Linked DNA regions of Homo sapiens: all the other regions are linked to region 4. The links are contacts of gene promoters, found by promoter capture Hi-C in blood cells and fetal thymus (Javierre and others, 2016). All regions are on one chromosome and are shown on one strand. Each heading gives the region's core, a stretch centred on a gene start or on the middle of the fragment in contact. The rest is flanking DNA. Distances are from core to core; before and after follow the strand shown. Region 1 overlaps LINC01839 (long intergenic non-protein coding RNA 1839). Region 2 holds the start of ABCF3 (ATP binding cassette subfamily F member 3). Region 3 holds the start of HTR3E (5-hydroxytryptamine receptor 3E). Region 4 holds the start of FAM131A (family with sequence similarity 131 member A). Region 5 overlaps LINC01839 (long intergenic non-protein coding RNA 1839). Region 6 overlaps LINC01839 (long intergenic non-protein coding RNA 1839).

Region 1 (3,388 bases), core at 676-3,175, 180 kb before region 4:
AATTAGCTGGGCGTGGTGGCACGCGCCTGTAGTCCCAGCTACTCAGGAGGCTGAGGCAGGAGAATCGCTTGAACCCGGGAGGTGGAGGTTGCAGTGAGCCGAGATCGCACCACTGCACTCCAGCCTGCGCCACTGCACTCCAGCCTGGCGACAGAGCAAGACTCTGTCTCAAAAAAAAAAAAAGACATACTCATGTTACAGCATATATCAAAATTTCATTTCTTTTTATGGCTGAATAATGTTCTATCTCTGTTTATACCACATTTTGTTTATCTATTCATCTGCTGATGAACTCTTAGATTGCTTTCACCTTTTGACTACTGTGAATAATGCTGCTATGAACATGAGTGTACAAATATCTGTTGAAGTTCCTGCTTTCAATTCTCTTGCATATATACATAGGAGCAGAATTTCTGGATCATACAGTAGTTTTATGCCAAATCTAATTTTTGTAAGATAAATAGATATCCCCTGCCGACCATTAGGAACAAATGAAAGAAATCAAATGCAAGCAATATTAGAAATTAAGAGGGTGATATAATGCCAGATACAAAAAGAGAGAAAAATAATTATAAGACAATATTACATACAACCCTAGGGCACCCAACTTGAAAATCTAGAGATTTGTTTCAACAAATCTAGGAATTGTTGAATTCCTAGAAAAACATAAACTGATATCAAAAGAGATTGAAAATTTAAATAGGTCAGTTACCCAGGAAGAAATTGGAAAAGTAAAAGTAATGTAGGAATAGAAAGACATTTCTTAAATATGATGAAAAATATTTACCAGAAGTCAATAGCAAATATCTTTCTTACTAAAACCATGAAACCCTCAAGCTATTTCCATTAAATTAGGAAAGTACAAAGAAGGGATGCTTACCATGATCATTATTATTCAACATGTTTTAAAGGCTCAATTGCATTATTGGGGAAAAAAGAAAGTATAAGAACGAATTCTAACAGCAGAAAAAGTTATATTTACCTGCAGATACTATGATTATACATGGAGAAGAACCCAAAAGACTGCAGTAAACATTCTACTAGAGAAGACATAAATAAGCAAATAAATAAACAAGATATTCACAGACTGTAAAAAGTACTCTGCAGGAAATAAACAGAGCAGTGATGAAGAGTAGCTAGGCAAAGGGCCTCACTCCAGACACAGTGGCCAGGAAAGGATTTCCTCCAGGGGAGATCCTGAAGCTAGGACCCAGGCAAGGAGAGGAAGAGCTCCAAGAACGGCATTCCAGCCAGAGGGAACAGTGTGTGCCAGGGTGGGTTTGAAGAACAGCAAGAAGGCCACTGGGACAGCAGCTAGAAGGGAAGAGGGTGTTGTGAGAGAAAGTGGGGTGGTGTGGGGGCTGTAGGCCAGAGTAAAAAGGTTGAACTTGACTCTAAATGCCATAAGAAGACATTGAAGGACTTTAGCCAGATTTATGCTTTTTTTTTTTTTTTTTTTTTTTTTTTTTGAGATGGAGTCTGGCTCTGTCGCCGAGGCTGGAGTGCAGTGGCAGGATCTTGGCTTACTGCAACCTCTACCTCCCAGGTTCAAGCGGTTCTCCTGCCTCAGCCTCCCGAGTAGCTGCGATTACAGGTGCCTGCCACCACACTTACCTAATTTTTTGTATTTTTTGGTGGAGATGGGGTTTCACCGTGTTCGCCAGGATAGTCTCGAACCCTTGACCTCCGGTGATCCACCCACCTTGGCCTCCCAAAGTGCTAGGATTACAGGCGTGAGCCACCACGCCCAGCTTCTTATTTATGTTTTTGAAAGAATATTATATGTGCTTTGTAGGGAGGAAGGCAAGGGGGGCTAAGGACGCCAATTAGAAAGCTATAGCTATGGGACAGGTGGGAAGTCACTGTGGTGTGCCTTAGGAAGTGGCACCGGGGCGAAGAAGACACACGGGTGGAAGTGAGCTGTATTTTAGAGTTAGGCCCCCAACTGGAGGGATGTACAGATGTTAGCCCTTTCCTGGTATATCCTCACTGACCTCTTTATTTTGAAACTCTAAATGTCACTTTGTTACAGCTATGTATCTTAGAAGCTAGGTAGATAGGCCGTTTTAGGCTTTTTACTTTTTTTTTTTTAATAGGGGAGTTTAATCCGTCTGCAGTAATTTTGCTCTGTTCTGTGGTTTCTCCTTTTGTCCTTCCTTTCTATTTTTAGTTACCATGGCTTCCCTGCCCCTTCCTCTTTTGCTTCCCCTTGCCTTGGTCTTTTGTTCCTGATTCCTGAAGGACTGTTGGAGTTTTCCCGGTCTCGTCTTTCTTAACGCTCTAAGGGTTTGGAAGTTTAACGTCCTATCTCTACTCCGGGTCTAGTGACCGTTCAGGGTCTTAAGACATTTTCAGTGCTAGCCCGTGCGTCTTTGTTTCCCCATCTTTCTTTAGTTCCCTTGTAAGCCTTTGTGATCACTTCAAATCCTTTTTAGAAATAGCTTCCAGATGAAGAAGTGAAGCTGCCTGGCGCATAGATGTGTTCAAGTCTCCCTTCTTTTCGCTCAAGGAGAGTGAAGAGTGGATGGTGCCAATTCTAGCTGGGAGGAGTGAAGGACGGGGAGGGGGACGATGAGGCAGGAGGAGACCACGCCGCCCTCCTGGGAGGGGGCTGACTCGACCCAGCTGGTTCGGGTGTGCACCATCCTCACTCTCTCCGCCCTTCCAGGGCTGCACTGCGCCCCGCTCTCGGCAAGACACGGGTGACGCTCCGGAGATTTAATTCCCCTGCTCAGGTCAGTGTAGGGCCTCAGGGAAGTTCAAAGCTCGCCCACTAGAGGGCATTGGCGCGTTTCCCAGAAGACACGGCCCCGGGAGCTTTCGGGCTCTCCAGCAGCCCAGGGGGACTCCGGCGTCCGCGTAGACTGGTTCTGCGCAGGGGGCTGGGGCTGCTGGCGAAGGAGGTCGGGCGCTGCAGAGGAGCTCATAGACCCTACAGCGCAGTCAGGGTCGGGGAGGCCGCTGATTCTCCCGCTTCAGGGCGTTCAACTGCAGGACGAAGCGTCCCCAACGCGCACACCCGACTCTGGAGACCCGAGTGTGTGCGGGAGGCCAGCCCCGCCGAAGCGCCGTCCAGGATCTGCCGAAGCGCCGTCCGGGATCTGCCGAAGCGCCATCCAGGATCTGCCGAAGCGCCATCCAGGATCTGCCGAAGCGCCGCCCGGGATCTGCCGCCGCACGCAAGAGCCCAACCATAGAGGACAGCGGGGGCACCTAGTACCCGTGGAGATCCCAAACTCCTCTCACCCCAGCCCCAAAGCACTTCTCCCAATGCTGCTGCCGTGCCTGAATCCCGCCCACGCGTGAGAATCACCCCATTATTACAGAAGACCCCTGTCAAATGCACACGCGTTAACCACGTGTTACCCAAGGACGACTCAGTCATCCT
Region 2 (3,268 bases), core at 406-2,905, 150 kb after region 4:
GGGAGAAATGGACAGCTCTTAGTGCTCCCCACCACCTTCTGTCCAGGCAAAAGCTGCTCTGCTCTCTTCTGAGCCATGCTTCCCCCACTCACAGAGGGTTGCTGGTCTTGAGCGTGTCCTTCTCTGAGCGCTTCTCCTGCTTTGCCTTAAGTCGAGCCTCGGCCTTCTCTAACTTCTTTGCATTCACTGTCTAAGGGTCCAAACACATCGACTTCACTCTCGGGTGTAGGCTCAGAAAGGAACCCCAAGAGAGAACATCTCGAGTAAACCCTCTTAACTTACCCATGATGAACAGACTCAAAGGCTCAGGAAAAGACATAGTCAGAAATCCCCCCAAAAGATACTCCAATTAGACAGTCAACTCCCAACCCCATCACAGACAGTCCCCTCCCTTGCTTCCTCCTCCTCACCGAGGACTGTTCCCTCTTTAGCAGTCCTGGAAGTTTGGTTCCACAGTCTGTAAGCGATAAGAAAAGCAGTCACCTTCTCCCTGAGGGAAGGGAAACTAACATTTTGAGTGACTAATAGGAACCAGGCACAGACACAGATGTTTTCTACAAAACCTTATAATACTGCAGATAGATGGCTATTATCTTCCCTGCACTAAAAACAAAACAAAACAAAACAAAACAAAACTCACGTAGAAGGATACAGAGGCATAGACAAGGCTGGGGACAGATAACCAACTCTTACAAGATCATGCAGCTGGTTAGCAAGTTGCAAAACTGGGGGTGAAAGCAAGTCTGTCCAGCTCCAGGCTCTTATGCTTCCTATCCTACCCAAGAGCTTGGAGGGAGAACCCTCCAACCTCCTCCCCACCCCCATCATGGGCTCTTCTGCCCTCGGTAAAGACATCAACTAGCTCCTACAACCTTGTCCTGTGGAAAAGACGTAGGAGCCCTAAGCTGCAGGCAGCAGATGGTTGGGGGCGGAGAAAAGCACAGGGGGGCAGTTAGTTCAACCTCCCCTCACTCTCACCGTAGTTCTCCGTTATCTTTGACAACTGGATAGGGGCGTCCAGTAGCACCTGGCTATTTCCCTGGCTTTGTGGCTCAGCCCTATGTGGGTAGGGATAGAAAGCGCAGAGTTAGGAGTTGAGGGAAAAGCTCTATGGCCATCAGATCTTCCTCCCCCACCTCTTGTCTCCGGACCGTTCGCCGTCCCTTCGCCCCCATCAACCCCTACTCCCTGGCACATACAGACGCAGAGTGTTGTACATGCGCTGGCACACGGCCCTGATGCCCGCGTCATCCTTGCTGTCCCCGGACACCTCTTGCAATAGTTCCCCTACAGCTTCCACCAGGTCATCCACAGACTCGAAGTCCGCGCTGCCGCTGTGCAAGACGCCTGGGCAGGGCGTGGTAGAACGAGGAAGGTATCGGGTAGGGTGGACACACAAGCAGTTTCAGACCCCAGACAGAGGCCCCAGTCCAGGCTCCAGACCCAACCAGCCCCCGGGACAAGAGGTCATGCAGAGGAGAGGCCTGGCAACAGTCCCGGGCACGACGCTCGCTTAGACTTTCCCCCGGCCTCCACTTCGGTCTCCCCAGCCGGCCGATTCAGTTCTGCTTACCGGTCACGTAGTCGAAGACTTGTCCGTCAATTTCGGGGAACTCGCTCCGCAGGATTTCGGCGCAAGTCGCCATGTTCCACTCAGGAACCCGTCCGCGCAGTCGCTGTGAGACCCCGGCCTAGGCCCGCCCCCCGCCCTGCCCCCGAAATCTCGCCCTTCCTTGCAAGGCGCATGTGTAGCGGTGACGCAGGAAAGGAGCGGAGTGCGCAGAGCCCGGTGGGCGGGGCGAGCGGGGCCTTGAGGAGAGGCGCCGAGTCTGCGCCGGAGCCGCGCTCTCTGCGCGTGCGCGACACCTTTTCCGCTGAAAGATTAGCCACATGTGCGGTTCTCGCTGCCTTCTGGGAGGTGGAGTTCCGGGAGCGAGGGGTGGGGCAAAGGCTGGGAGCTCAAGGTTTATCGGGGCCGCGAGGCACCCGTGGTCTGGCGGGTGGGAGCCTCCCAAGAGGCAGGCGGCTGATAAAGCACTTTGGCTTTGCCAGGTTTTATGCGCTCCCTCGAGGCGCGTCTGCTGCTGGTGCGTACCCAGTCAGGCCCATTTTGGAGCCTGCCCAGAGCTTTGCTGACTCACCCCGGTCCCTGACTCTCAGAAGCCCCCTGCTCAGTGCTTTGCTTTCGCGGGTCCCCAGACCCTACGGGCTTCTCAGCCTGGTGGCCAGCGCCACCCGCCTCCCCGCCGCGACCGCCTTTTCACTGTGTAATTCAGCCGACCTTTGTGAATTAAGCCCATTCAGTTCTTCCACCACCCCAGGGCACGACCAAATCCACCGCCAAAGGGCAAGAAAACCAGGACAACGTGGCCTGTATAAATTATTCCCTACCTACACCCTGAGCAGACTTCTCTGCACTCAATAAATGCCAATAAAAGGCTATTTCCTTTCACCGATTCCCTCGGGAAGTTAGGAATTTCCTCCAAAATGATGCTACTGCTTTATATTTAACGTGAATATTCCTCCAATTGGTCTCTAAAAGTGGCACCGAAAATTACATTATTACCCATTCATCCCTTTGGATTAAACATTGCCATCATGAGGCATCAATCCCGATATTGAACCATTTTACAGGAAATACAGGTAAAGAGGAATATGTTAAGTGACTTCATGGGGACAACAGGCAAATTCTGATGTGGTAAACTACAGAACTCTGGTTTCTTCCACAAAATTGCAAGACCTGAAGGGAAACATCAATTTTTAAAATTTGAGGAGCATTAACCAACCACAATGGACCTTATCTGGAAAAATTTGATAAGACACCTGGTTAAGTGAACACAAACTGGATGTGATATTAAGGAACTGGCCACGCATTGATCATAGTTGAAGCTGGGTGATGAGACATGGAGATTCATTATATTCTTTTTTTTTTTTTTTTTAATTTGAGAAGGAGTTTCGCTCTTGTTGCCCAGGCTGGAGTACAGTGGCGTGATCTTGGCTCACCGCAGCCTCCACCTCCTGGGTTCGAGCGATTCTCCTGCCTCAGCCCCCGAATAGCTGGGATTACCGGCATGCACCACCACGCCCGGCTAATTTTGTAATTTTAGTAGAGACGAGGTTTCCCCATGTTGGTCAGGCTGGTCTCGAATTCCGGACCTCGGGTGATCCACCCGTCTCGGCCTCCCAGAGTGCTGGGATTACAGTGTGAGCCACCGCGCCCAGTCCATTATGTTATTCTCCTTGCAAATCTTTCCTCCTACCACCCAGT
Region 3 (3,797 bases), core at 1,089-3,588, 240 kb after region 4:
TGGGGGTTTTTTGAGACAGCGACTCACTCTACTGCCCAGGCTGGAGTGCAGTGGCGCAATCACTTGGCCTCAGCCTCTGGGCTTAGGGGATCTTCCCACCTCAGCCTCCCAAGTAACTGTGACTACAGGCGTTCCCCACCACACTTGGCTAATTTTTTTAAAAAATTTTTGTAGAGACGGGGATCTCACTATATTGCCCAGGCTGGTCTCAAACCCCGGGGCTCAAGTGATTCTCCCACCTGGGCCTCCCAAAGTTCTGGAATTATAGGTGTGAGCCACCATTCCTAGCCACATAGCTATTTTTAGAAGTGTGGGTGGGATTTTTTTTTAATTTCTTTTTTAAATTTTTAAATTTTTTTTAGAGGGAGTCTCACTCTGTCACCCAGGCTGGAGTGCAGTGGTGCGATCTTGACTCACTGCAATCTCTGGCTCCCAGGTTCAACCGATTCTTCTGCCTCAGCCTCCCAAGTAACTGGGATTACAGGCACTACCACCACATCAGGCTAGTTTTTGTATTTTTAGTAGAGATGGGGTTTCACCATGTTAGCCAGGCTGGTCTTGAACTCTTGACCTCAGGTGATCCGCCTGCCTCAGCGTCCCAAGTGCTGGGATTACAGGTGTGAGCCACCTCACCTGACCCGTCCCACCCTCTTCTAACTAATAAATTTTTAAATTTTCTAGTCATGAAAATGTGTTGGAGGAGCAACAACTTGGACTGAGAGAGATGGTTGATAACCTCTGTGCCAAGGACATTGAGCCTTATCCATTCCCAACGTCACAGTGCTTTCCAGCAAATTCTTAAACCACTCTAAGAACAGTGAATATTCATTTGTCAACCCCTGTGTGCAAGTGCCCAGAGGAGCTTTCATAACCATTTACACTGCCTAGACCAGGTGTACAATTTGTGTCTCTTCCCTGTGCTGGCCTTTAAAGTCACCTCTGGTTCAGTCCTCTCCTGTGCCTCCTTATCCAAAGTCATGGAATAATCTAACGAGGAGAGATGACAGTTATTGGCACTTTTACCAAGTGCCAGACACTGTGCTTCCCTCCTTCTCTTACTGAATCCTCACAACCCTGCAAGGTAGGTTCTGTTTTACAGATGAGGAAACCAGAGCTCAGATAAGTTAAGCAGTGCATCCAAGTTTATAAAACTAGCAACGTGAGACACCAAGATTCAAACCCAGGTCCACCTGTCTCCAAATCCCATGTTCTTGTCTCTCTACCATGCTGACCCCCTGGAAGAGAAGCACATTCTACTTTCACCCTTGACCTGCTGCCTTCTGGCACCTTACCTAACCTAGAGCCCTTGGATCCAGCAGATGGACAGGGAAATTATGGCTAAAGGAGGTGGGCACTTTGCTACAATGGTTTGGGTTTCATACCTGTAGAGAGAAAGAATTACACCTGTGGATAGAAAGATGGATGGATATAGAAGCTAAATACAAGAGAAGACGATCGTGGATGGTTGTCTTCCATGTAGGGTACCAATGGAGAAAAGACAGACTTTTCAAGTAGTATTGGGAAAACTGGATATCCATATGTGAAAGGATAAAGTTTGCTGGTGTTGAACTCTATTTTTCGAGAAGGAAAATGAAAGTGCTCTTGTTTGGCATGTAACTGGAAGGGGATTTTCCGTCTTTCAGAAAAGGAAAGTCTATGTGGGCATCTTAGTAATGTAGCTATGAAAGAACTCTATCCATCTTAGACAATCTCTAGGAGTTGGAAATTTGAAAAAAGTTCCTAGATGTTCTACTAGAGAGAGGTCCTCCTTCTTCCGCCTTCCCCCATCATTGCTCCTTTCTTACCTTGAAGCAGAAAACCGAGAAGGAGGTAGAAGGAAAATCTTTTCCTGTGGAACCAGCTTCCTTCCATCTTCTTTGTCTAAGTTCTTCTCTGAACATGTACTGGGACCCAGGAATGCCCAGATTAAAGCAGCACAGGCCACACCTAGAGTCTGACTTTGAATACTAATAGCATTGGTTGACCACTGACATTTGTAACCTTCCTTCAAAGAGTGTTCTGGTTGTCTTGTTCTTGCCTATGCTTAAGGTTCAGTCTGCTTTTAAGACTTTATCTTAGTCTTAGGTATTTCACTGCAACGTAAATGGTTATAGATAGTTCATACGTGATCAACTTGCAGATCTTGGTGAGATCCCTTGGTCTGAAGACTCATCTCTTCAATTTTGGAAAATTCTCAGACATTTATAAATGTTTCACTTCCTCTATTTTTCTTATTAGACATGTGTTGAATGGTTTCCTTCTATCTTACATGCCTTTTATTGCTGTTGTAACAAATCACAAACCCAGTGGCTTAAATAAACACAATTTGTTATTTTACTGTTCTGTGGGCCAGAAGTTTGAAATGGGTCTCACTGGGCTAAAATGAATGTGTCAGCAGGACCGCATTCCCTCTGGAGGCTCTAGAGGAGAATCCATTTCCTTGCCTTTTCCAGATTTTTTTTTTTTTGAGACAGGGTTTCACTCTGTTGACCAGGCTGGAGTGCAGTGGCGCAATCGCGACTCACTGCAGCCTTGACCTCCTGGGCTCAAGGGATCTTTCCGTCTCAGCCTCCCAAGTAGCTGGGACCTCACAGGTGTGAGCCACCAAGCTTGGCTATTTTTTTTTTTTTTAGTAGAAATGAGGTCTCGCTTTGTTGCCTAGGCTTGTCTCCAACTCCTGGCCTCAAGTGATCCTCCAACCTTGATCTCCCAAAGTGCTGGGATTATAGACATGAGCCATTGTACCCGGCCTTTTCCAGCTTTTAAACTGCCTGTATTTCTTGGTTCATTATTTTTACTTCTCCATCTTCAAAACCAGCAACATCAGGCCAATGTTTCTCACAAGGCATCTCATCTCTCTGGTTCTTATTTGTTTCTCTCTCCTTCTTCCACTTATAAGAGCCTTTGTGATTGCATTGTGTCCATTTGGATAATCCAGGATAGTCTCCCCATCTCAAAGTCCGATAATTAACAACCTTAATTCCATCTGCAACCTTAACTCCCCTTTTCCATATAACCTAAGGTTCCAGAGATTAGGATGTGGACAAATTCTGGGGGCCGTTATTCTGCCTAGCACACCTCTCTTTCCTATTTTCTACCTCTTTATCTCTGTCCCTAATGATTTCTTCAGATCTAGCTTCCAGGAAAAAAATTCTCTCCTCAACTGTGTTTATTTTAATTAATTAATTAATTAATTTTTGATGAAACTCAGTAATTTTTATTGCAACTGGAAGACAATACATTGCAGAAACTTTATGGTAGGTCTGGGGAAAAGTGTTATTTACAATAGATTATGACATAATTTGTCTTTGACAATATGATTACATACGAAGAATGCAAAATGCAAGTATGGATGCCTTCCATATTTTATTTTATTTTGAGATGGAGTCTCATTCTGTTGCCCAGGCTAGAGTGCAGTGGCGTGATCTTGGCTCACTACAGCCTCCACCTCCTTGATTTGAGCGATTCTCCTGTCTCAGCCTCCTGAGTAGTTGGGACTACAGGCTTGTGCCACCACACCCAGCTAATTTTTGTATTTTTATTAGAGACAGGGTTTCACCATGTTGTCCAGGCTGGTCTTGAACTCCTCACCTCAGCTGATCTGCCCACCTCGGCCTTCCAAAGTGCTGGGATTACAGGAGTGAGCCACTGTGCTTGACCCTCAACTGTGTCTAATCTGTCCATCTAATCTGCCCACTGAGTTTTGGTTTTGTTTTTTTGTTTTTTTGTTTTTTAGAGAGAGGGTTTCACTGTCTCCCACCATGCCTGGCCCTCAACTGTGAGCCACCATGCTGGGA
Region 4 (3,730 bases), core at 397-2,896:
CCATCATTGCCCTTGTCTGTCTCCCGAGGGAGCTCAGGATGGCAAGGCCTAAGTCTGATGCACGTAAGTTCCTAACTCCACCCTGTACCTGGCTCAGGGCTCCCTGACAAGCCCCAGCAAATGTTTCCCTCACTTAATGAAGTTGGAGGCACACATCCCTCCCCGGCATTGCCCAGCTCTCTTCTATCACGTTCCCGTCCCTCACAAGGGCAGCCAACACTGCCCCTTGACCTGAGGCCCACCCTCGATCCCTCCCCTTGGGTACCTGGCTGACAGGGCCCCCAGGGTGGCGCCAGTAGCCTCCAGCCAGGCCTAGGCGGGGGAGCACCTGCTGGGTGTTTCTTAGCTTGCTCTCCCTCCCTCGCTTCGCTCCCCTCAGCCGCCGCCATCCGTGCCCGGCGCTCCGCGCAGCTGCGGCCCAGGCCCAGAGAAAAGGTGTATGTCTCCCTGGCAACCCATCACCACGCAACAGGGTCTCCCGGGATACGGCCCGGGATGCGCTGACGTCAGCGCGGAAGGCGCGAGCTCTCCGCCTGCTGGCACAGCGCCGAGCAGAGCAGACCGGCACGGGGGCGGCCTCCCGGCCCGCCGCCGGATAGCGCCTCCGCCCGCCGGAAAAGGGAGCCAGAAGCTGGCTGGCCAGGCGTGGGTGGGGGCTGCAGATCCCCTTTATATGGATGACGTCCTCCTTCCCCCCACCACCAGGGGCCCAGCACCTCTGGCAAGTCCTGACTGTCCACCGAGGAAGGGCGGGAGGACCTGCTCCAGCCTCGGAGGGTTCGAGCAGATCCCAAAGAGGATAGAGAGAGACCCCGAGGAAGTTCGATCCACTCCACAGCCCAAGCGGGGTCCGAGGACACTGAGAGGAAGGGGAAAGGCTGTTGAGCTGTGCCCCTACTTCTGCAGAGATCCCCATTTTCATCCAGTATTGCCGTATCATTTCTCGGCCCCTCCCCCACCTTCCAGAAGACCAGCGCCCACTGAGTGCTCTCCTCAACTCTAAAAGCCCCCATCCCACACATCACTGACCCTCGGGCCCCTGGGGCCATTCTGTGGCAGCCCACTTGCCACCTTCCTGCTCTGGATAAATTTTGCCTCAAAACCCTAGGGTGAAACCAAACAATGATAAATTCTGACTCTCCTTCCCGTTTCCCAGCCTACCCATTCCTCTTGGAAAGCACACTGAGTTCTTCCGCCATCACTGTCCCCCCCACCACCGCCACCCTGGACCCTTTGCAGGAGGGTTGCCTTCCTTCTCTCTTCCTGCTGCCTTCTTTCCTCTCGCCAGCCTCAGCTGGTCCACAGCTCTTTACTCTTCTTTTCTGACGAACTCATGATATTTTTTCTGATTTTCACCCCTGTCCCCTGAAGCCGTTTCCTGATGCCCTGTCTGGCCCCAGCCTGGTTCTCCCTGTTTCAGCCTGGTTCTTAATATCTAAGCCAGAGTAATTTTCCTTTTCCACCTAAGCACCCTACTGCTCAGCTTCCCATCATCTCCCAGATCACATCCATGATCCCTGGTCTCACCTCTGCGACTTGTCTGACAAGTCCATCGTCCTCCAGGCCCTTCACGCTGCCACAGAAACATTTTGCCCAGCACAGAAATCATAGGCATGCTGGCTGTGTTGATGCAGAGAACCAAAAGCCCAGAACCGCTCCAGGCTCAGCTCCCAGTTCTATTCCTGTTTTGGCTCCGGATGCTGAGCCAGTCCCCTCCCCATTTGGAACCTGTGCCTAGTCACATAAGGAGAACATTCCTGCCTCATGGCTCTGAGGAGGTGGGAACACCAGGGCTCAGCCAAGCTCTCTGGGACTCGGGGAGCTGAGGCCCATTCCCTAGACAGTGCCAACAGGCAATGTACATCACAACTGACCTTTAGCTGGAGCAGCCGTCTCTATCCCTGAGCCTCGGCCAGCTGTTGGTCCCCAGAAATGCTACCAACCAGAAGGAAAACAGGAGGTTACAGGCCATCCCTGGCCCCCAACTGGTACCTAACCAGGGCTCTCGAGGCCAGTCCTGAGGTCAGCCAAACTCACCCCTGACAAGAGAAGGTGATGACTTCCTGAACTCCAAGCCTTGATAGGGCCAGAGAGATCAGAGCAGTCAGCTGCTCCTCAGCTTCAAAAGCCACGAGGTTAACTTAGGACTACAAATCCCAGAATTCCTCAAGGGAAGTACAAATCTCAGCCAGTCTTAGCTCCAAAGAACATCAAGTACCAACCACACCAAGGCCTGTGTGACTGACCACCTGCCCTGAAGGTCCAGGACCCATCCCAAACCCAGTCCTGCCTTGCCTTATGCGTGGAGAAATCCACCACACCGGAGTAAAGGAAGCTGGCCGACCTCTGATGCACAGGACTACGGCCAGGCCCGGTGTGCATGGCCACCCACGGAAACCGAGGCCCAGGCAGGGGTCAGCACTGTGGGAAGGAAGCCCTGATGGCCTGCCTCTGGGTTCCTCTTTCCCTCCACAGAGTAGAGTGATTTGTTTTTGCTGAGTGGGGGCAGGACATTAAAACAACTGTAATAGGTGAGAGGTGATTCAGTGTTCACAGGTGCCCCAAACGGGACCTCAGTCCCCCTTCGCCGACTGACTGAAGAGGGGAGTCAATGTCCGACAAAAATTCTGTGGTAGGGTGCTTAGCCAGGACCGAAAGGCTACCTCTTTAAGAAGATGGGGACACGGCTGGGAGAAGCAGGTTCCCAGCACAGGGCCACTCCCAGGACTGTGAAGGCAGAGGTGTAGGCGGAGGGGAGTGTGTGTGTGGGCGCGCAAGGCCAGTCGCCGAGGGCTGGAGTGGTGGGGGCATCGGGCTGCCCAGCCCCTCCCGGGGCTGTGCGTCTCCGGCCACCCTGAGCAGTGGGCACACGGCAGCCAGCGGCGAGACCATGCGTCTGCCCTGCAAAACCCCAAGGCAGGCAGGCCGTGGGAGCGAACCGGAGTCGGTCTGGCCCCTTCCCTGCTCATTCCCGCTCCCTCCTGTTGCCTGGCCCGCCTCCCGGTGCAGGCTCCTCCCTCTCCCGACACCGGCCCCCTCCTCAAGGCCCCCACCCACCCGCGGCCCGCGCACCGGCGGCCGCAGCCCGACTCCCCAACCCGTACCCGGCCTCCGCCTCTTACCCTGACCCGCCGGGCTCCGAGAGCCGATACAGCCCATGGCCGGGCACCCAGGCACGCTAGCCTGCGCTCGGGGCGCGGGCCATCGCCTTGCAGAGGGTAGGGTCGCGGCCACACTGGGGAGGGGAGAGCCCGTGAGAGGGGAGGGGTGGGAGCCGCGCGTCCGCCGCCGCTCCCCGGAGAGGGAACCGGGCCGGTGACGTAAGCGCGGGGGCGTGACCGCCGCGTCACCACCCAAAGTAGGCGGGGCGCAGCGACGTCACAGCCACGCAGAGGCGGCCTGGACCGGGTTCGAAAATGCCGGTCCTCTCCTCCCAGAGCCGACTGCCACCTGAAGGCAGGGGCGGCGAACACTCACTAAGCCAGCCCAGTCACACTACACGGGGTCGCAAAACCTCCCTTCATGCATCCAGCCCCTTCATTTTACAGATGACACCTTCAAGCCATAAAGGGATTCTCCAGCTATAAACAACCCGAAACCCAAAAGCCTTCCCCACACAGGGGCTTGAATCATTCTGGTAGGAGAGCAGAGCCTAGCAAGGATGTCCTATCACTAATCTCCCTTTTCTCCGGACCAGGAAGGCACCTATCAAGCCCATCTGAGGGCCCAA
Region 5 (3,700 bases), core at 220-2,719, 210 kb before region 4:
TTCCTTCAACTGTCCCGTGTCCTTCCAACACTTTCTCTCTCTGCCTCCCTTTATCTCCTCAGTCTCTCCTCTTCTCTTTCCCTCCCACCCTTTCTCTCTTTCTGTGCTTAATTTAGGGCCTGTTTCTGATTCTAAAGCCTAAAATCCACATAACAGCACTGTTGGCAGGAGGCAGTGGGGCAGTGCCCAGGGAGTCTGGTTCCCAGAATGTTAGCTACTGCTGTGAGGGCCACCACCCAGTCATCCCAGAGCCAGCCTGATGGGAGAGGGCCCTCTGTGGGGCCGCTTAGCGGACCACGGACCCCCAGCAGATGAGCAGGGGTTGGCTGCTGACTCCTGGTCCTGCACGGGACCTGGCCTCTGGGTGTCCCCAGTGAGGGTCCATTTGCTGCTGCCTCATGCTCAGAGCCTGCAGATCAACCGCTCGCGGTCCTTTCTGAGGCAGTGGTCTTTGTAAACCTGCCCAGCCCAAGCTCCTCAGCCTGTGGTTGTTGGAGATTTCAGTTGTTCCTCTCACGGGAGCCCTCCAGGTCTCCAGGTCAGAATGTGTCCTCCTAGAGGCCCCTCAAGCTCCAGTGATTTTCTCCTGGATGTCTGTTGTTTTTTCCTCTTCAGGGCCACCTCAATTGCCCCACTTTGGGGAACTGCTGTACCCTCACTCCAATCATGGCATTCTAGTGGACTCTCTAGTCACTGTACCCCACCCTGTGGCCACACGGGTAATCAAGGGATGGGGGAAGAGACCGTGGAGCTGCCTTCATTTCCAGAGCTGCAATGTTGCCAGTTGGATTGCTGGTGACCATCTTCCCTAACATGGAGAACATTCATCTACAGTAACAGAAAAGAAAAGAAACAGAGAAGAATTCAGGGACAAAAAGAGATGAGACAATATCATCTGAATTCCTCCATCCAGTCTGCTTCTGGGCCCAACCACCTCCAGGTGAAAGACTGACTCCGTTCTTTATTTCACAAGCTTTTACTGAGCTCCCAGTGCAGGAAGGAGAATGCAGAAGAGTAAGGTAGTGTCACTGTCCTTGGGGGAGTGATTGTGCTGTGACAGACATATGTACATGTGCATGGATGCAGATACACATATGCACACACTCATGGGGGTAACACATGGGGCACAAAAGCAAAAGTGTGCAACTCTCATCTGGGCAAACATCTGGGAGGCGGTGGCTCCACAAAGACTTCATGGAGTTGGTGGCCCCAGAGGAGTCTTGAAGCTCCATTGGCAAGAGCAATCCTCAATGGGCCTGCCCTTCCAAGTAAGAGCCTAGGTTTCCAAAGCTGCTTAGTTGGAAATCCTTTGTGGACCTGTTGCTAAGAATAAGCCCTTGTCACATGAGCACACTGCTGAGCTGAAGGCCTTCTCTCAGAGGTGGCACAATACTGGAAGGGAACCATCGAATGCGGATGCCCTGAGCTGTCACCCCCACAGATTCCCATTGTGTCCCATCATTTCCTCCGGAAGTTTCAATGTTGGAAGGCCGACCTGACCTACCTCTTCAGGTTGAACAAATGGCCCAATTATCTGTGTACGATCTCAGATTGTCTTGAGCTGAATGGATGGGAATGGGGGGGCGGCTGTCTTGAAAAGAAAATGCCAGAGGGAGTCCAGCCATCCGCAAGCTGTTAGCTGGAGCCGATTGCCCACAAAGGATCCCTTTGTTATTCCAGGAGGTGTTGTCACAAGAGCTTGGCCACAGCTCTCGAAGCACATCCAGGAACAGTTCTAGTGAGAGCGTTGGCAGGGAGCTCTGTCTGGTGGCCTGGAACAGATTCTAATCTTGAGGAGACTGGGAGGGGTAACACCCGCCAACCTGCTTAGCACCACCTGCCCGGGAGCTGGCCGTCCCATGGGCAGTGACCAGGGAGCATGGCCAGCACTCCGCAGTGATGGGGCCAGAGCTTCTCAAGGAAAGGGCTTGTGAGTTTCTGGCTAGCTTCTTCTCTGAAAGCTTCCAGGGGCTCCTGCTTCCATCTTAAACAACTGTGGGACAATAGCAGAAACAATGGCAAGTGTTCCCCTGTGGTTTGTATAACAGGCTCTCCATCATTCAGTCTTCCCCACGTTGGCCACAGCAGAGTATCTGTGGATAGGAAATTGATGTGAATTCCCACCCTCCTACAGTAGGTGGCCATATAAATTATCTTTCAAGCCTGAACACCTTGAAGAGTCAAAGGTGGTGCTATTAATAATTACACTGGGACAACTGGCCTGAATTGGGACCACCTTGGGCAAATCTAGGAGTTTGGGCTCCCTACTTAGTCCTTTAAACAAAAGGTCAAGACGAAAGGATGATGCCTTGAGGCAGATTGTTGGTGGAGATGGCCAAGAAACCTTTCCAAAGGCCTCTTTTGCTTCATGTCTTTCACTCCATGTTTTGCAACAGGATGTTCTGAATCAATATTGGCTCAGCTTTGCCTCAGTGACCTCCATCCAGGCTTTGCCGAGGATGTCACAGCCAAGAACATGGTCTAGCTGTAGTTCTCTGTGCAACTATTCTCCCAAAAGGTTGTTAGGGACTGTATAAAGAATATAGGCTTGTGGCTGGGTGCAGTGGCTCATGCCTGTAATCCCAGCACTTTGGGAGGCCGAGGCAGACGGATCACCTGAGATCAGGAGTTTGAGACCGGCCTGGCCAACATGGTGAAATCCCATCTCTACTAAAAAAAAAAAAATACAAAAATTAGCAGGGCATGGTGGCGGGCACCTGTAATCCCAGCTACTCTGGAGGCTGAGGCAGGAGAATTGTTTGAACCCAGGAGACAGAGGTTGCAGTGAGCCGAGACCGTACCACTGCACTCCAGCCTGGGAGACAGAGCAAGACTCTGTCTCAAAAAAAAAAAAAAAAAAGAATGTAGGCTTGTACATGTGAAATGTGGCTATACTAAGTGTGAGTGAGGGCACAGAGCAACAGAAACTGGCACACGCTGGCATGAGGGTAACCTGCATGACAGACGGGAAAAGCACCATACCCTCAGCCCAGTAACCACCCCGGGTGTACACCCTTGGGAAAGTCTCACACATGTGCAGGATATCAGAACAAAAATCGTTGTAGCAGCATTATCTATAACAGTAAAAAACGGGAAGCAAGGCCGGACGCGGTGGCTCATGCCTGTAATCCCAGCACTTTGGGAGGCCGAGGCGGGCGGATCACGAGGTCAGGAGATCGAGACCATCCTGGCCAACACGGTGAAACCCCGTCTCTACTGAAAATACAAAAAATTAGCCGGACGCGGTGGCGGGCGCCTGTAGTCCCAGCTACTTGGGAGGCTGAGGCAGGAGAATGGCGTGAACCCCAGAGGCGGAGCTTGCAGTGAGCCGAGATTGCACCACTGCACCCCAGCCTGGGAGAGAGCAAGACTCTGTCTCAAAAAAAAAAAACGGGAAACAACCTGAAACTTCATCAGCAGAGTCATGGATTTTGAAAAGCAGTAACAATACACAAATTAGAGATATATGTATTCACATGGATAAACGTCACAGACAATTTTAAGAGACAAAAACAAGATGCAGGAGGAGGATTTCTTTCCCATGATGCTGTCTCTACAAGGCTGAAAAACATGCCATCAGATGCAACGTACTGGGTATGGAATCTTGCATGTATGGCAAAGGTATATAGACATAGATGAAAATGATCAACACAAATTCAGGACAGTGGTTGGAGGGGAGAGAGGTGAAGAGGATCAGGGG
Region 6 (3,454 bases), core at 506-3,005, 190 kb before region 4:
TGCTTCCAGTCTACTTTGGGTTTCTCCAATGACCTTTGGCTGAGGGCTTGGCTGAGCACATGCCAGCAAGACACCGTGAAGTCTAGAAGAAGGCTGCTAAGAGCTGGATAGGGCTCAGAGCTGGATGGGAATGCCAGAGGTGGCACAGTGTTGGGAGTTCCGGCCAATCCATAGTTAGGAGTAAGGACCATGTTCTGTCTAGAGTAAGGACCAATTCCTAAGACTAAGGACAAAACCAAAACAGACCAAGCCTGCGGGATCAATAAGATCCACTGGTAATTTAACCACCTACCAGAATAAAAGGGGCAGAGTCAAAGTCAGTAAATTAAAGAACAGACTTTTCCAGTGCAAAAGCTGTGCCTAACGAAGAGCTGCAACTGTGGTTACTTGCACGTGGTAGCAACACAGAACCTACTAACTTTTGGAAGAAATTTTATTGCCAAAGAAACCATGGATATGGCTGGGCATGGTGGCTCATGCCTGTAATCCCAGCACTTTGGGAGGCTGAGGTGGGTGGATCCCCTGAGGTCGGGAGTTCGAGACCAGCCTGCCAACATGATGAAACCCTGTCTCTACTAAAAATACAAAAATTAGCAGGGCATGGTGGCGGGTGCCTGTAATCCCAGCTATTTGGGAGGCCGAGGCAGGAGGATGGCTTGAACCTGCGAGAAAGAGTTTGCAGTGAGCGGAGACCACACCATTGCACTGCAGCCTGGACAACAAGAGCAAAACTCCGTCTCAAAAAAAAAAAAAAGAAAAAGAAAAAGAAAAAAAGAAACCACAGATATGGTCTACAAAAGCCTGGGATGGTTTTGACTCCTAAAGTAACTCTAGGGTCCCCAGACAGCACAGGCTGAAAGAGGTTGTGGAACCTATGAGCTCCCCCTTCCTCAAAGGATATAGTCTCCAGTGCCCACTTGAGATGTGGCCAGAAAAAACAACTGACAGAGAATAACCTCCCAGAAAACAAGCCCGTCCTCTCTGGGGCCAGTGGACAAGGGACTTGCTCCCAGACAGCGATGCCAGTGGTGACTCCATGCAAGGGAAGGGAGTCTTTGTAGGATCTCATTATCGCTATGAACCAGTGACTAATGCATGTTTTCCGTTCTTCCCTTTTCTGAAAGTTTTTATTAGTTATCCTGTTCCTTCTCCCCCAGCGCATACTGGGTTTATATGTCATAAGAAGCAAGAGAAGTAACTTTTCTTTTGGTTTATAGGTCAGCAGAGAGAGAGTCACATCTGGACCTTTGGGAGAGGATCCAGAGAGTCTGCACTTTGCACAGATGCCATCACTGTAGACCTGTCTTCCTTGGGGAGGAGCAAGTGTGTTCTGTGAGTGAGACAGACGGACATTTGGGTGGCTGCCCAGGCTCCTTTCCAGCTGGATGTAGCAAAGTTACCTAGTTCTAGACAATGGAATGGGAGCATATGTGATGTGTGCTACTTCCGGGTCATGCTCTTAAAGGGAATCGGGAGGAGTTTGTCTTGATTTATTGTTTTCCCTCTTCCCACCAGCTAGAATCCAAACATAATGATAGGAGCTACAGCAGGTATCTTAGAGCACGAGCTAGAAGTCCCACGTTGCGAAAAGCACATAGAGCTTCAGTCCCTGACCCCATCCAGCTGCCATGCCTAGTCTGCATTGCCCACCACCTGGCCTGTTTTTTGTTTTTTTGTTTTTTTGTTTTTGAGACACAGTCTCACTCTGTCATCCAGGCTGGAGTGCAGTGCTGCGATCTCGGCTCACTGCAACCTCCATCTCCTGGGTTCAAGCGATTCTCGTGCCTCAGCCTCCAGAGTAGCTGGTGGGATTACAGGCATGCGCCACCATGCCTGGCTAATTTTTGTATTTTTAGTAGAGAGGGGGTTTTGCCATGTTGGCCAGGCTGGTCTCGAACCCCTGACCTCAAGTGATCTGCCTGCCCCGGCCTCCCAAAGTTCTGGGATTACAAGTGTGAGCTACTGCGCCCAGCCCACCTGCACTTTTATCTGAGAGAGAAACCAGCTCCTATTTTTTAAGCCACCATCTTCAAGATCTTTTTGTTGCGGCTACCCGACCCATGATCTCAGCTCATCCTCCTCCTGCTGCTTATTCTCTGAGATGGCATTTGGGGTGTGGGAGGTGGGTCTTAGCTGGTCTAGTGGTGAAGGTGAAGAACAGGCCTCAGTTCCTGAGCACAGATTCATGTGCTGCCCTATACCTCCTCTGATTTCTGTAGCCAGTTTCATGTTGACCCCATCACAGGGCATGAATCTCGCTGACATCTGTTGCTTACGTTGATAGCTGAGAAACTCTAGCTCCTCCGAGTCCAGGGGTCCTTTCAATTGATTCTTCTCCACTTTGGTCCTACTACTGTGCTTGATCCCCCTCAGGGAACTTCCATTAGGCTCCCAGCCTGAGTGACCACCCAGCCGTCAACTATAGGGTCACCTCTCCTCACAGAAGCTCTTCCCCTGCAAGAGTATCCAGGAAATTCTCGACACTTTTCATGCCAATGAATGGGCAGCTAATTGTTGGTCTTGTCTCTGCCTAATAGGCAGACAGATTGATACAGGGCAGGTACCTGGTGAGGCTTCTCTTCCCAGAAGCCCAAATTGAAACAGAGTCAGAGGCTTCTCTTCTGCTTTCGGTGTTTCTTTCAATCTGCCTGTGTCTAGAACTGGGGCTGTCAGGACACATCTCTCACAACTGCTTCTCCCTGCTCCATCTTCCTCTTCCCCCTTCCATCTTCCTCCTCCCCCCTCCATCTTCCTCCTCCCCCCTCCATCTTCCTCCTCCCCCTACAACCCTCCCAGGGAAGGGGGGGCATTTTTCCACTTCCTCTTGATAGCGCATCTCCCATGTGGACTTTCATGATTAAATCTACCAAGGTTGGCCAGGTGCGGCGGCTCACGCCTGTAATCCCAGCACTTTGGGAGGCTGAGGCGGGCAGATCACCTGAAGTCAGGAGTTCCAGACCAGCCTGACCCACATAGCGAAACCGCATCTCTACTAAAATAAAAATTAGCCAGGCATGGTGGCGCATGCCTGTAATCCCAGCTACTCGGGAGGCTGAGGCAGGAGAATTGCTTGAACGTGGGTGGCAGAAGTTGCAGTGAATTAATGGGTGCAGCACACCAACATGGCACATGTATACATATGTAACAAACCTGCACGTTGTGCACATGTACCCTAGAACTTAAAGTATAATTAAAAAAAAAAAAAGAAGTTGCAGTGAGCCGGGATCACTCCATTGCACTCCAGCCTGGGCGACAGAGTGAGACTCTGTCTCAAAAAAAAAGTCCACCAAGGTTGAGCCTTGATCTATTAGAGGACGAGCTTCAGGATAAAATCAAAATCATTCCTTTTCTTTTTTCCATAAAGGCTTGCATTTGAGCCTCTGGTCTTGCTAAATGGGTTAAGGAAAGTTAAGAAAGTCTCTCAAGGGTGCCTCTGTCCCAGGCAGTACCTGCC

What was found. Contacts are between HindIII fragments. The CHiCAGO score rates a contact against its expected background, and 5 or more counts as called.
Region 1: a contact is called between a fragment that was not itself captured here and the fragment with the promoter of FAM131A in region 4, in 1 of 17 cell types (total CD8 T cells). The highest score is 5.1, in total CD8 T cells.
Region 2: a contact is called between the fragment with the promoter of ABCF3 here and the fragment with the promoter of FAM131A in region 4, in 17 of 17 cell types (naive CD8 T cells, non-activated CD4 T cells, total B cells and 14 more). The highest score is 35.6, in naive CD8 T cells.
Region 3: the fragment with the promoter of HTR3E here is called in contact with the fragment with the promoter of FAM131A in region 4 in 3 of 17 cell types (naive B cells, neutrophils and total CD4 T cells); the score reaches 6.0 in naive B cells.
Region 5: a fragment that was not itself captured here is called in contact with the fragment with the promoter of FAM131A in region 4 in 2 of 17 cell types (megakaryocytes and endothelial precursors); the score reaches 5.6 in megakaryocytes.
Region 6: a contact is called between a fragment that was not itself captured here and the fragment with the promoter of FAM131A in region 4, in 8 of 17 cell types (M0 macrophages, naive B cells, M2 macrophages and 5 more). The highest score is 7.4, in M0 macrophages.

Annotation. Positions count from the first base shown.
Region 1 is chr3:184,513,306-184,516,693 of GRCh38, reverse strand. The region is part of intron 6 of LINC01839 (long intergenic non-protein coding RNA 1839); the gene reads right to left. Among named protein-coding and RNA genes, the nearest start is that of LINC01839, 39 kb to the right of the region's middle. RefSeq lists enhancers at 2,599-2,893, 2,597-3,097. The HindIII fragment of the contact is 5,319 bases long and covers 1-3,388 here.
Region 2 is chr3:184,184,586-184,187,853 of GRCh38, reverse strand. It overlaps ABCF3 (ATP binding cassette subfamily F member 3), which reads right to left and starts at 1,655. Exons shown (of 21, transcript NM_018358.3): 1 at 1,574-1,655; 2 at 1,200-1,347; 3 at 979-1,058; 4 at 411-457; 5 at 93-190. The coding sequence starts at 1,646. RefSeq lists enhancers at 1,351-1,670, 2,148-2,862. The HindIII fragment of the contact is 6,180 bases long and covers 1-3,268 here.
Region 3 is chr3:184,095,605-184,099,401 of GRCh38, reverse strand. It overlaps HTR3E (5-hydroxytryptamine receptor 3E), which reads right to left and starts at 2,338. Exons shown (of 9, transcript NM_001256613.2): 1 at 1,806-2,338. The coding sequence starts at 1,872. The region is part of intron 2 of HTR3E-AS1 (HTR3E antisense RNA 1); the gene reads left to right. The HindIII fragment of the contact is 4,461 bases long and covers 1-2,611 here.
Region 4 is chr3:184,335,516-184,339,245 of GRCh38, reverse strand. It overlaps FAM131A (family with sequence similarity 131 member A), which reads right to left and starts at 1,646. Exons shown (of 6, transcript NM_144635.5): 1 at 1,528-1,646; 2 at 717-859. The coding sequence starts at 1,615. RefSeq lists an enhancer at 493-1,104 and silencers at 2,903-2,972, 2,896-3,096, 3,013-3,442. The HindIII fragment of the contact is 18,780 bases long and covers 1-3,730 here.
Region 5 is chr3:184,548,000-184,551,699 of GRCh38, reverse strand. LINC01839 (long intergenic non-protein coding RNA 1839) reads right to left here. Exons shown (of 8, transcript XR_924788.3): 7 at 1,505-2,093; 8 at 1-828. The region is part of intron 1 of LINC01840 (long intergenic non-protein coding RNA 1840); the gene reads left to right. Among named protein-coding and RNA genes, the nearest start is that of LINC01840, 7.1 kb to the left of the region's middle. The HindIII fragment of the contact is 988 bases long and covers 976-1,963 here.
Region 6 is chr3:184,529,697-184,533,150 of GRCh38, reverse strand. All of the region lies in intron 6 of LINC01839 (long intergenic non-protein coding RNA 1839), which reads right to left. Among named protein-coding and RNA genes, the nearest start is that of LINC01840, 25 kb to the left of the region's middle. The HindIII fragment of the contact is 3,749 bases long and covers 1-3,454 here.